Linked DNA regions of Homo sapiens: region 2 is linked to region 1. The links are contacts of gene promoters, found by promoter capture Hi-C in blood cells and fetal thymus (Javierre and others, 2016). All regions are on one chromosome and are shown on one strand. Each heading gives the region's core, a stretch centred on a gene start or on the middle of the fragment in contact. The rest is flanking DNA. Distances are from core to core; before and after follow the strand shown. Region 1 holds the start of SLC75A1 (solute carrier family 75 member 1). Region 2 overlaps FAM193A (family with sequence similarity 193 member A).

Evidence for each region. Contacts are between HindIII fragments. The CHiCAGO score rates a contact against its expected background, and 5 or more counts as called.
Region 2: a contact is called between a fragment that was not itself captured here and the fragment with the promoter of SLC75A1 in region 1, in 1 of 17 cell types (total B cells). The highest score is 5.8, in total B cells.

The regions. Positions count from the first base shown.
Region 1 is chr4:2,930,449-2,936,928 of GRCh38, forward strand. It overlaps SLC75A1 (solute carrier family 75 member 1), which reads right to left and starts at 4,377. Exons shown (of 13, transcript NM_001146069.2): 1 at 4,321-4,377; 2 at 3,305-3,496; 3 at 3,119-3,215; 4 at 2,658-2,761; 5 at 2,152-2,310; 6 at 1,903-2,064; 7 at 1,597-1,705; 8 at 1,377-1,488; 9 at 1,107-1,215; 10 at 927-1,017; 11 at 779-826; 12 at 613-702; 13 at 119-505. The coding sequence starts at 3,475. The coding sequence ends at 390. NOP14-AS1 (NOP14 antisense RNA 1) reads left to right here and starts at 5,098. Exons shown (of 4, transcript NR_015453.2): 1 at 5,098-6,480. RefSeq lists enhancers at 1,358-1,427, 1,848-1,897, 2,618-2,847, 3,090-3,957, 5,215-6,414 and 2 more and silencers at 3,798-4,017, 4,247-4,556, 4,717-4,826. The HindIII fragment of the contact is 5,918 bases long and covers 1-5,096 here.
Region 2 is chr4:2,666,814-2,673,136 of GRCh38, forward strand. It overlaps FAM193A (family with sequence similarity 193 member A), which reads left to right. Exons shown (of 21, transcript NM_001366318.2): 13 at 5,308-5,559. Among named protein-coding and RNA genes, the nearest start is that of TNIP2, 86 kb to the right of the region's middle. RefSeq lists an enhancer at 4,395-4,939. The HindIII fragment of the contact is 5,143 bases long and covers 212-5,354 here.

The DNA.
Region 1 (6,480 bases), core at 3,127-5,626:
AACTGAGGGTCTCAAAGAGCCTTGGACCCTTCCGGTCAGTGGAGCCATTCATTCAGCTCCAGCTGCCTTTCCTGGTGTGGGTAGAAGCACGGCTATATATGGCGAAAGGCACTTGGTATAAAACAAACAGGTGCTTTATTTCATCATCAGAAACCTGGTGCATAGTTTAAAAAACAAACAGAAGCCCTGACAGCCTTGGAGTGCTGCAGCTCGGAGTCACTGAAGGAGTAAGTAAGTCTGGAGGAGCTGCCTGAGCTTCCTGCTTAGGGGCCGGCCCCCACCCACAGGGTCTCCCTGGACTGGCGGGGGGTGGGGGTCAGGCAGTGGGCAGGGGCCTGACCTAGGCTCCCACTCTGCCTGGTGCCCACAGCCTGGGCACAGTGGCTCAGCTACTCAGCCTTGAGCGTCTGTGCCGGGTAACTCAGCTTCTGCAGGAGGAAGAAGGGGAGCAAAAAGAGCCCGGACCACGTGGTGAAGCAGGCCTGGGCCCCGGCCAGCCAGTACACTGCGGAGAGACGGTGGCGTCACCCAGTCCCCGAGGGGGCTGGCACTTGGGAGGCGAGGGCAGGTGCTTGGCCCCCAGCCTGCCCCAGCACCATCCCGCGCCCTCACCTGAAGCGGCCACCAGGGGCCCCGCGGCCCTGGCCAGAGCACCTAGGCTGCGCAGTGTACCCATGACCGTGCCCTTCTGCCCTGGTGAGCCTGTGGGAAGAGGCACAGTCAGGCACCACTGCCCTTCTCCCGCTCAGGTGGCTTCGGCCGAGGGAAGGGGGCTCACCATAGCCAGCGACCACGGAGGACAGGCAGGGCACCACAACGGCGGCGGCTGGTGGGAGACATCGAGGAGGTGCCCGTCAGCCCAGGGGAGGGTGCATCACCCAGCCCCTGCTGCCCATCGGATCCCCTGCCAGGGCAGGGCCACTCACCAAAGGAGTAGAGCAGCAGCCCCAGGCCCAGCACGGGCAGAGAACGTCCCCAGCCGATGAGGAGGAAGGCGGGCACCAGCAGCAGGAGGGCCTGCAGGTGGGCACGGCAGCCTCAGCACAGCCCGTGCCCTGCAGGACTCAGGGGACTGCCTGCCACCCGCTTTGGAGGGAGCCCCCTACCCGCTTCACGGCAGCAACTTCCCCGCCAGGGTGGATCCGCCGGGCATAGGCACCCTGGATGGTGGCCATGGTGAGGCCGATGAGGAAAAACATCTTCCCCTGCTGTAGGCTGGGAGCGGGTGTGTTAGTGCAGGGCACCCGGGGCAGGGCCACCCAGGGCAGGGCCAGGGCGAGAGTGGCTGCCAAGGCTTCCTGGGGATGGGGGTTGCTTCCCTGAAGCAGGGGCGTTATTTCAGGGAGACAGCAGGCCGTCGCCAGATGGGGACCCACCTACTGAACTGGAAGCGCTGGTGTGTGAGGAAGCTCAGCGTGTACTCCAGGCCCGAGAACAGGAAGAGGTAGAGGAAGTAGACTAGGCCCAGGCGGCGCAGGCTGCTGAGCCCTGGGGAGAGGTGGCGCGTGCTGAGAAGGCGACCACAGCAGGGAAGGGCGCCGCCCGGGGAAGCCCAGGGGAGAGCAGGCTCCACGCTTGGGTTGGTCGAGTCCTTACTGTCTCCAGAGGGTGGGTCCTGGCCACGAGCGACAGCCGAGAAGCGCAGCAGGGCCAGGGGGCTGAGCAGATCAGCCGCATCACGGAACCCCAGGGCGATAGAGGGCGCCTGTGGGGATGGCATTGGAGAGCCTGCAGGAGCGGCTGCTGGCCTGGCAACCCACGGACTGTGGCCTCAAGGGTCCCAACACCAAGAGAGCGGCCCAGCCTCCCTGGCATCTGGGGCTGGCACACAGGGGCACTTTACATCGCTATGGAATCAAGCCTCCAGCCCCTAGGCCTGTGGGTCCCAGACCACAGCCCTACCCGTTTCTCCAGGGGCAGCGTCTCTGGCAGGAAGCAGAAGATGAACAGCAGGTCGGAGGCTGCGAAGAGCAGGGCAAACCAGGGTGCCATTTCCAGGGGCAGGGAGGCTCCGAGCATAGGGCCCAGGGTGAAGCCCAGTGAGAAGGCCACCCCAATGACCGCCTAGGGAAAAGACCACCCGAGCTGCACAGGGAGACCCAGGCCCAGAAGTCACCACCAGGACCCCAAAGGCCCAGCCTGTGCACTTACCATGCCTTGACTGCGGGCCAGAGGCGAGCCCAGGTCAGCAACGATGGCCGTGGAGAGGCTGACGTTCCCTTTGCTGATGCCCCCAATCAGCCTGGAGGCCAGGAAGGCCGCAAAGCTCCGAGAGGTGGCCCAGACTGCATATGAGGTGGCCACACCCATCTGCCCAGGGGCAGGGGCCAAGAGGCAGGGGCGGTCGCTTAAGGCCAGGAGTGGCTCAGAGTAGGGCTTGGCAACCCAGACAACACCCCTCAACCCTGCCCTATTTCGAAGCATCTGAGGGCCACTTGCGTTCTCAGTGCCTTCCTAGGGGCCAGGAGCAGCTCCTTGAAAGCCTGGCTCTGGAACAGGAGCCACTGGTCCCCCGAGAACCCCCTCCAGGATGCGATGAGGGCCAACCAGTGGCCATGAGGGGCCCACAGCCACCTCCCTCTCCCCACCTAACCCCATGGGGCTACTGGCTGGGTGGGAGGAGGCTTCCCCATGGGCACCCAGGCCCAGGAACATACCAGGCACAGCAGCATCACCGGGCGCCTCCCCAAGCAGTCAGAGGTGGCCCCAGTGAGTGGCGCACACAGAAACTGCAGGACAGAGAATGCCGAGCCAATGAGACCTGAGAGACAGATGTCACCATCATGGGGCTGCCTGGCACCATGAGCTGTGGTCTTGGGGCCCTCAAGGCCAATGTCCAGCCCCGTCCTGAGGGTCCAGTCATGCTGGGCCCTACACTCACAGGCCATGGCCCTTGAGCCGAGGGGGCCCCAATGGAGAGATGAGGAAGGATCTGAACGTGACACGCGGAGGCAAGGGATCATGCCCAGAAGCCAGGACATGTGGGCAAGGGCACCAGACATGCCAGCCCAGGGAGTGGGAAGGCAAGGACCGAGAATTGGGGAGGGGCCTGGGCTGGACCACGTCCACCAAACATAGGACCGTAGAGAGCCCGCCAAGGGCACAGAGCCAGCCATACCTCCGAACAGGACACTGTTGTACCTCTTCTCCACTGGCATCCCGATGGCGGTGGCAAACCAGTCCACCCCGCCCTGCCAGGAGCCATAGAGGGGGTCCTAGGGGATGAGGAATCACGATAAGGGCTGGGGAGGTCTGATGGGCCTGGGGGGCAGGGGGCACTGTGGGCCGCAGGGCAAGGACTCACGTGGGCACGGCCGTGGCTCTCCAACAGCCCGGGCAGCAGGGGCAGCAGCAGCGTGAAGGCCAGGAGGTCCAGCAGGAGGCCGAGAAAGACAACGGTGACCACGCGGCGCTCCGGCGGCTGCTGGTGGATGGGTGGGCGCGGGGTGCAGCCTCCACCCCCTCCCCATCCCATGGTGGGCTGCTCTGACCTGGCCTGGGTGGGGTGCGGCGGGTCGGGTTAGCGGGGAAGCCGAGTCCTCCGGGGCCTGGCATACCCCCACACCCGACAGCCGGCGAGCACCCTAAAGGGGCTGATGGCAGGGGCTCTGGCCTACGGACGCAGGGGCCGTTCTGGCCTGCGCGATGCCCCCGCCCCGAACCCAGGCAGCAGGAAACGCAGGCTTCGGGGATTGCACAAAAAATAGCCGCAAAGGCAACGGTCCTGAGAGACCAGGGTGAGCACATCGCGGACCTGGCCCCACCCCACCCCACGGCCGCGCCTCCCACGCCCTCGTAACAGCGAGAGAAAACTTGAAGCCGCGGGGAACCCGGATCCCGATCCCGATCCCGATCCCGATCCCAACCCCAACCCCAGCCCCGGCCCGCGCCCCGCGATTCCGGCCCCTGGCCCGGACTCGGTCTCCCTGGCGGGGGCCATGGGGTGCACACCGGACGCAGGAGCACCCCCAACCCCGCGCGCCTCCCACTCCGCCATCCCGCGTGCGTCCCGGTCCCGCCCCCACCCCGCGCGCCCCCGGTCCCGCCCCCCACCCTGCGCGTCCCCGGTCCCGTCCCCCACCCTGCGCGCCCTCTAACCCCCACGCCGCGCGCCTCCCACCGCCCCCACCCCGCGCGCCCCTGGTCCAGCCCCACACCCCGCGCGCCCCCTACTCCCCTACCCTGCGCACCTCTCACCCGCCCCACCCCCGCGTACCCCGGGTCCCGTCTCCTCCCCCACCCCGCGCGTCCCCTGTCCCACCCCCAACCCGAGCGCCCCCTACGCCCCCCACCCCGGGCGCCCCCGGTCCCGCCCCGCACCTGCCGCGGCTGCGCGCTCGGGACGGACGGTCGCACAGACGCGGAACAGGGCACCAGGCACGCCGCCAGGGGCGGGACGGCCACGCCCGGCCACGCCACGCCCCGGAAGTGACGTACATCTCTGCACGTTCTCTTCCGGCCGGAGTCAGTGGCGGGGTTCTCGCCGGTCCTGCGGGTCGCTGCTTGGCTGTGGGTTAGCAGCACCCTGAGCGGAGCGGAAGAGCTGCCCGCCGCCGCGTAACCCCGAGGCCGAGACTCCTGGCCTGGCCTCCTTGGGCCCACGACGCCTGCCCCGCGGAGCGGACCCATGGGCCTGAGGTTTGTGTGCGGGGCCTCAGGCGAGCGCTGGCGCAGCCTGTCCCCCATCGTCTGCGCCCTGCGGGCCTGGCCCTCCCCGTGGAAGGACCGCGGGCTTCGGGGCCCCACGCTGGGGGGCTGACTCCTGCCACACACACAGCGGTGGCCGCGGGCCTGGGGCGGCAGCACAGCCATTCTGCTCGGGCTGCGTGAGCTGACCCCGCTCTCTGTGCACCTACTTTTGCTGCGTTTGGTGCTGAGCCTGAAGTCCCAGGACAGGCGGCTGAGGGGGAAAGATGGTGTGAATTGGGTGGGCAGAGACAACTGAAAGCCACAGGACCCGGTTGGCACCTTTTTGGCCGCCTGCGCCTTTGCCTGCAGCCCCGCTCCCTGGGTCACCCGAAGGAGGAGCTGGCGCTCTTTCCGGGCGCAGAAGCACCCGACCCACGCTGGAGGAAACGGTCCCTCTGGGCAGGAGAAGCTTTGGGCCTGGCTGGAGCACACTCACGGAACCACGCCAACGCCTGGCCTGTAGCCAGCTCCCACCTCCCCTCCCACCTTCTAAAATGCTTGCGGATCTCACGTGGCCGACCCTAACCAGATACACATGGGGAAAGGAATCAGGTGGCACACATACCGCCTTTACTCCATAGAGAACTTCCAATTGTGGGTAAGAACAAAGCCCCACCTCTTCCTAATAGATGCAGTTTTCCACCTGCAGCCAAAAAGACAACCTGTTATTAGCTTTTTTCCCAGAGGACAGGCATCTCTATGAAACTGCCATTGCAAAATTTGCCGACAGTGAGATAACCAGCTCCATTTTGCTTCTAACCTCCATGCCCTCCTTGTTTACTGCTGCACGCAGGTTGAACTGTGGGAGGAACTTAGTTTAAAACAAAGATGATAACAGCCCTTTCCCAAAGGAAACCTTTCCTGGGGATTAGCCTGCTTTTGTGGGACCAACAGATTAGCCACAAGATTAGAAACTACGGTTGAAGAGTCACGCAGCGGGAGGCTACAGGATTCTGACCCTCCCCAAACTGCTCCTGGCGATAACATCACCATCGTAAAGCCTAAGATCAGCACTTGGTGGGTCACCTGGCACCACCCAGGCTCATCTGATGTTGTGGCACCCAGGAACTGACTCAGTGCGAAAACAGCTTCGACTCCCTGTGATTTCATCTCTGACCTGACCAATGGGTACTTCTGACTCACTGGCTGCCCCCCACCCACCAGCTTATCTTTAAAAACTCCAAACCCCAGATGCTCAGGGAGACCGAGTAATAATAAAACTCCAGTCTCCCACACAGCTAGCTCTGCGTGAATTACCTTTTCTCTGTTGCAAATGCCCTTTCTTGATAAATTGGCTGTCTAGGTAACAGGGAAGGTGAACCCACTGGGCAGTTACACTTTTATCCACCCTTCCAGCTGGATCACGCGCCCTCTTCAATGACATGACACGCAGCTAGAGTGTATGAGCTTGCTGCCGGCACCTTCCGTCCTGGATCGCATAGCAAGGCCTCAATGGACAGCCAGGTGCCTGGTCCGGTCCCACTTTTTTTTCTGTCCTGTTCTCGTTTCCTCTTTGCTTGGCCAAAGAGGGTTGGGCCAGGGTCCTGAGTGCAAAGGCTTGGCTTGGTGAATTAAAGTGGCAGTAGCCGTGTGGCAGAGAAAATTTGTAGATGGGTGAAATCCTGGGCCTACACAGTGACAAAGTGTATATAGACAGCCAGCCTAGTTGGTGGATGTGACAACCCCAGACTCTTCTAGATTTGTGGATCCGTGCACCTGCCAGACCTGTCTCTGAGCCATCTGGGGAGGCTGGGTAAGATTTCCCCCGTCAGGGCCTGAGCCTCATCTCCA
Region 2 (6,323 bases), core at 1,533-4,032, 270 kb before region 1:
TCCTTTTTAATTCTGCAGTGCCTGCAGTGATGCTAATTCTTGATTTGGGTAATTTTATCTTCCTTTTAACGGCTTCAGTCACTTGGGCTAAAGATTTGTCAATTTCTCTGTTTTCGTTTCTGTGTCATTGGTTTCCATTCTGAAATTGATTATTTCTTTCTATGTTCTTTGGGTTTTGCTTGCTCTTCCTTTTCTAGTTTGTTGAAACAAAAGCTTAGATGACTGATTTTAGAGCTTCCAAATTTATTGAGACTTGTTGATGGCCTAACATATAGTTTACCTAGATCCTGTTCTATGTGTACTTGAAAATAATTTGAACTTTGTTCTTGTTGTGTGGAGTGTTCAAGAAATGAAAGTTTGATCAAATTGGTTGATGGCATTCTTCAAGTCTTCTGTATTGTCTTGGTCTATCCAGGCTACCATGTAAGGACAGTAACCCCATTCCTGAGAGTAGAGCCTTCCAAAGTCCTTATCGCCTAATACCATCACTTTGGAGGTTAGGCTATCAACATATGAATTTTGGAGGGGCACAGATACTCAGATCATAGTATATATTCTTACTGATTATCTGTCTGGTGGTTTTATCGGTTACTGAGAGAGGCATATTGAAGCCTTCAAGTTTAACTGTTGGATTATTTCCTTCTCCTTTCAATTCTTCCTTGTTTTGGTTCATGCATTTGGGGGTGATGTTATTGAATTATTGTTATAGCTCCCCTGATATATTGCCCCTTTTATCATTATGAAATGTTTGACTACTGGTGTTTCTTAACGTCCGTTTTATTTGTTAGTATAGCCACTCCACCTTCTTGGGTTACTGTGTACATGTATTTTTTCATCCTTTTACTTTCAGTTTCTTTGTGTCTTTGAATCTAAAATTTGTCTAACATCTTTTAGTTGGGCCTTGCATTTTTATCCTGTATATGTCAGTATCTGCCTTTTTAAATATTAAACAAAAATTTTAGTGTACTATTTTAATTCTTCTGTTGATTCTTTTTTTAATTTTCTTAGTGGCTGCTGTAGGGTTACAGTATGCATCTCTTGTGAATGTCGTTATAAAAAATAAAAAGAAACAAAAATTAAAATACAATATGTATCTCTTTTTTTCTTAGAGACAGGGTCTTGCTCTGTTACACAAGCTGGAGTGGGGTGGCATCATCATGCCTCACTGCAACCTCAAGCTCCTGGGCTCAAGCAGTCTTCCTGCCTCAGCCTCCTTAGTAAGCTGGGACTATAGGCATGTGCCGCCATGACCGGCTAAGTTTTTTAATTTTAGTAGAGACAAGGTCTCCCTGTGTTGCCCAAGTTTGTCTCAAACTCCTGGCCTTCAGTGATTCTCCCGCCAGGAAATCCCAAAGTGCTAAGATTACACTTAACCAGTGTACCCAGCCACAATATGCATCTTTTTTTTTTTTTTTTTTGATACAGAGTCTCGCTCTGTCACCCAGGCTGGAGTGCAGTGGCGCAATCTTGGCTCACTGCAACCTCTGCTTCCCAGGTTCAAGTGATTCTCCTGCCTCAGCCTCCCAAGTAGCTGGGATTACAGATGCGCACCACCACGCCCATCTAATTTTTGTATTTTTAGTAGAGACAATGTTTTGCCACTTTGGCCAGGCTGGTCTCTAACTGGCCTCAAGTGATCCACCTACCTCAGCCTCCCAAAGTGCTGAGATTACAGGTGTGAGCCACCACGCCCGCCCACAATATGCATCTTAATTTATCACAATCTACTCCAGATTACTACTGACTTAATTCCAGTAAAATATACAAACTTTGCTCCGCAGGAGCTCCATTTCCTTCTTTCTCCTTTGTACTATTATTGTCCTATATATAATTACATTTGTATATGTTACAAACCAATAATATGTTTTAATTACTGCTTTATACAGCTTTATAATTTCTAGAGCAAATAAAAGAGAAAAATGTATTTATACAGTGCCTGCCTGCCTGCCTTCTTTTCTTTCTTTTCCTTTTCCTCTCTCTCTCTTTCTCTCTCTCTCTCTTTCTCTTTTCCTTTTCCTTTTCTTTTCCTTTTTCTTTTCCTTTTTTTGAGACAGAGTCACACTCTGTTGTCCAGGCTAGAGTGCAGTGGCACAATTTTGGCTCACTTCAACCTCCACCTCCCAGGTTCAAGCAGTTCTCCTGCCTCAGCCACCTGAGTAGCTGGGATCACAGGCAAGCACCATGGCACCCGGCTAATTTTTGTATTTTTGGTGGAGATGACATTTCGCCATGTTGGCCAGGCTGGTCTCAAACTCCTGACTTCAGGTGACCTACCCGCCTTGGCCTCCCAAAGTGCTGGGATTACAGGCATGAGCTACCACGCCTGGCCTGTATTTATACAGTGTTTTCTATTTGCTAGCTGGCTAGTCATTTCTGGCATTCTTCATTTTAAATTCTGCCGAATTTAAGTTACCGTCTTGTTTTTACCTTCCTTTAATATGTCTTACAGGACCAGTTTGCTAGCAGTTAATTCTGTTTTTGTGTAAATGTCTTTATTTTGCCTTCATTTTAAAAAATAGACCAGGCATGGGGGTGTCTCACGCCCAGCACTTTGGGAGGCAGAGGCGGGCAGATCACCTGAGGTCAGGAGTTCGAGACCAGCCTAGCCAACGTGGTGAAACCCCATCTCTTCTAAAAATACAAAAATTAGCCAGGCGTGCTATCATGTGCTTGTCATCCCAGCTACTTGGGAGGCTGAGGCATGAGAATTGCTTGAACCCGGGAGGCAGAGGTTGCAGTGAGACAAGATCGCGCCATTGCGCTCCAGCCTAGGCGAGAAGTGAGACTCCGTCTCAACAATAAATAAATAAATAATAAATAGAGTGGTTGTTTTTAGGAATAGCTTTAGACTCACAGCAAAGTTGAGTGAGAGCTACAGAGACACCCTATACCCAGGGTCCCCACACACAGCCTTCCCACTATCAAATTCCACACCAGAGTGTTACTCTTGTTACAGTCATCAGCTGTCAGACTGTTAGAACAAGCAGTCAGTTCTCCTGGCAGCCTGGCTTTCTCAAGAAGGTGTTTTAGTAGGGTCTGGGGTCATCCTAGGGACTTGGCCTTTGGCTGCAGGAAGCCTTAGGTGGTCATTGTGTGCCAGAGTTCTGCAGCTCTCAGTATCTCTTTGTTTTTATCCATCTTAAGGTTCACTGAGCTTCTTGGATCTGTAGACCAATGTTTCTCATCACATTTGGGAAGTGGAGTGTCCAGGTGTTATTTGGATGCTCTTCCCCCTTTCCTCTGGGACTTGGTTCTGCACATGCTGGAGTGCTGGCTGCTCTCCCACAGGCCTCTGAGCGTCTGCATACTTTCCCCTCATCTCTTCTCTCTCTTCCTAGATCAGTTCCATTGCTCTTCTTCAAGTTCACAGATGATTTTTCTGCCATTTTAAGTTTGCTTTTGAGCCCCTTTAGTGAAATTTTGGTTTAGCTATTGTACTCTTCACCTATAGAATTTATATTTTACTGTTTTTTTGTTTCTCTTTTTTTGTAGTAATTCCCTATATGTTGAATCTTTATTTTCATATTTTCCTTTAATTCTCTGAACATGTTATAACAGCTGCTTTGACATCTTTGTGTGCTAATTTAGTATCTGAACTCACTCCTGTTAACCGTTTGACTATTTATTTCCTGCATGTGGGTCACACTTTTTTTTTTCCAGACAAGGTCTTGCTCTGCCACCCAGGCTGAAGTGCAGTGGCATGATTACAGCTCACTGGAGCCTCGAGCCTGGACCTCCTGGGCTCAAACAATCCTCCCACCTCAGCCCCCCAAGTACTTGGGACTACAGGCACACACCACCATGCCTGGATAGTTTTTGTACTTTTTGTAGAGACAGGGTTTTGCCATGTTGCCCAGACTAGGCTTGAACTCTTGGGCTCAAGTGATCTTCCCACCTCTGCCTCCCAAAGTGTTGGGATTACAGGTGTGAGCCACTGCGCCCAGCCTAGGTCATACTTCTCTTTAATCTTTGCTTGTCTCATAATTTTTTGTTGAAAATTGGACATTTTAAATAATGTGATAATTTTGCATTATCATTTTTTCCCTTGAGGGTCCTTTGTTGTCTTTTGTTTGTTTCCTTGTTTTTGTTATTTCCTGGGCTTCAGTTGCAGGACCTGTATCTCCCACATTATGTGGCTGTGGGTGTCTCAGCTTACTTCTTCTCTTCTCCTTTTTAGTTTGGCTTCTAGAGGTCTGCCCTTTGTCCACCTGGCTGATTGGCCAGCTGATGATTTGGGCAGAGGTTGCCCATGCACCTTGAATCCACAGGGGCTCCATTGTTGGCTGTGGGGTGAATGCGCTCAGCACTCAGCCAGTTCTCAAGTCAGCTGTGTTGGCCCCTTCCTCCAGCCCGTGAGGTGTCCTCAGTGCATGCACTGTGCTCTCCTGGTCAGCCAGCGAGTTGTGGACAGCTTAAGAAGCCCTTCCGTGGCGCTCTCATTTCCAGGGTTCTCTCTGTTAGATTTCTGTCTCCTTTGCCACTCACCCCAGTTGGGACCTCAGTCTCAAGGGAACAGAGCTGCAGGCTTCCCTATTCATTCCCTTCTAAGTTCACTGCTTTTACTGCTTCACCCTCTGCCTGACCAGGCTGCTGTTTTTGGTAGCAGGGTTGGTTTGCGCTGACATCCCTGCAGTCACAGAACTCCTGTGCCCACTGCCGACCGAGTCAGGGGTGGAGTACAGGTGCAGGAAATGGAAAGAGTCCCAGACAAGAAAGCCAGACTTGCTGTTCTTCCTTGAAGTTCTAGCTGATTTGCATGAATAAATGTGTCGCGGTATTTTCCTTGGGCTGATTTCCAGAGCCTCAGAATGGTTGCCTTTGACAATTGTGTTCAGTTTTACATTTGCCCTGAGGGAAAGGAGCCACTGACCTCTTCACTCCACCGTAACCGGAAGTCGCGTCTCTGCTTTGTTTTGGAGAATCCATGTGTGACTACTTAGAAGCAGTGTGAGCCCAGTGGAGCACAGCCATCCCCTCTCTACTCTGTCGTCTTCACTAGTTCCCTTGTCCCTGCTCACATGTGGGAAGAGAGATTTTCTGCATAGGCATAGGATTCAGAACCAGTGGCTCTACCTGAGTCTGTCTGTGGAATGAGGTACACCTTTCTTCTCTGTGCGTCTTCTTCAGTCTCAGTCTCTTGGGGTCCCTCGTTTTCCTTGCATGGAAGGCCCTGGTCAACTCAGGGTGTCAGGAAAAGCCCACTTACCTTTGTATTTGCTTTGTAACTACTTGGCAGAATGTGACTGACTTTAATTCATACCATTTATTGTTTCACTAAATAGGTATGTTTTTTTTCTTTCCTCTTAGGCTGAACAAGCTCCAAACACTTGTGAATGTCATGTTTGTAAGCAGGAAGCTTCTGGACTGACACCATCTGCAATGACAGCCGGAGCCCTTCCTCCTGGCCATCAGTTCTTGAGCCCAGAGAAGCCCACACACCCTGCACTGCACCTTTACCCTCACATCCATGGACATGTGCCTTTGCACACTGTTCCACACCTGCCACGCCCTCTCATCCACCCCACCTTGTATGCAACGCCCCCCTTCACACACAGTAAGGTAAGTCAGGGCAAAAAGGGTCTGAAAGCTCACTCTTCACTGAGATCCTACAGGAGTACATAGTCAAACAAAGAAATCTGTGAATTAGCAACTTGCATAGGATAGCATCTGCTCTGGATAGGAAGGTCTCCAAGTGTTTCCTTTCACCATAATCTCTTAAGCACTGTAATTGTGAACCTTTACAGTTGTAACAATCATTAAAAACAACTGTGAAGGTCATAGTTCTTTTATTCAGAATTAAATAGAACAGAAGGATTTTTCAGGTGCTATTTCTAACAGGTTAAACCTAGGGAATATTTCCACAGGAGACCAGTAATCTACTTGTGATCTTCCAGGGCTTGCTCTTCTTCTTAATTTGATAGGTAAAATAATGTGAATACAACATGAGTCCTCTAACACTGGCTGGACTCTACAGGGTCTAAAATGTCTATGCTGCTTTAGCATTTAGAAATACACGAGCCTAAATAAAGGAAGAGCCCTAAGTGTGATGCCACAGAAAACTATAACGCCCTGCAGGTGATGGAGCACTGGGGAGGGGAGGGTACAGAAAGGAGAAGCTGCCAGAAACCCAGTGTGAAGAGCCCATTCAGGAAGTGGAGTGAGGATGTAGAAATAAGTTGATTTTTATGCATTTCTTCCCAGAGAACCTCATGTGTATACTTAGTATCTTAGACTTTACAGTGAAATTCTTAGGCTGGTTTCTTTCTTTGGACCTTAGATAGCTTTGCCTCTCTAGTTATTTTGAGCTTAACTTTACCAGAATG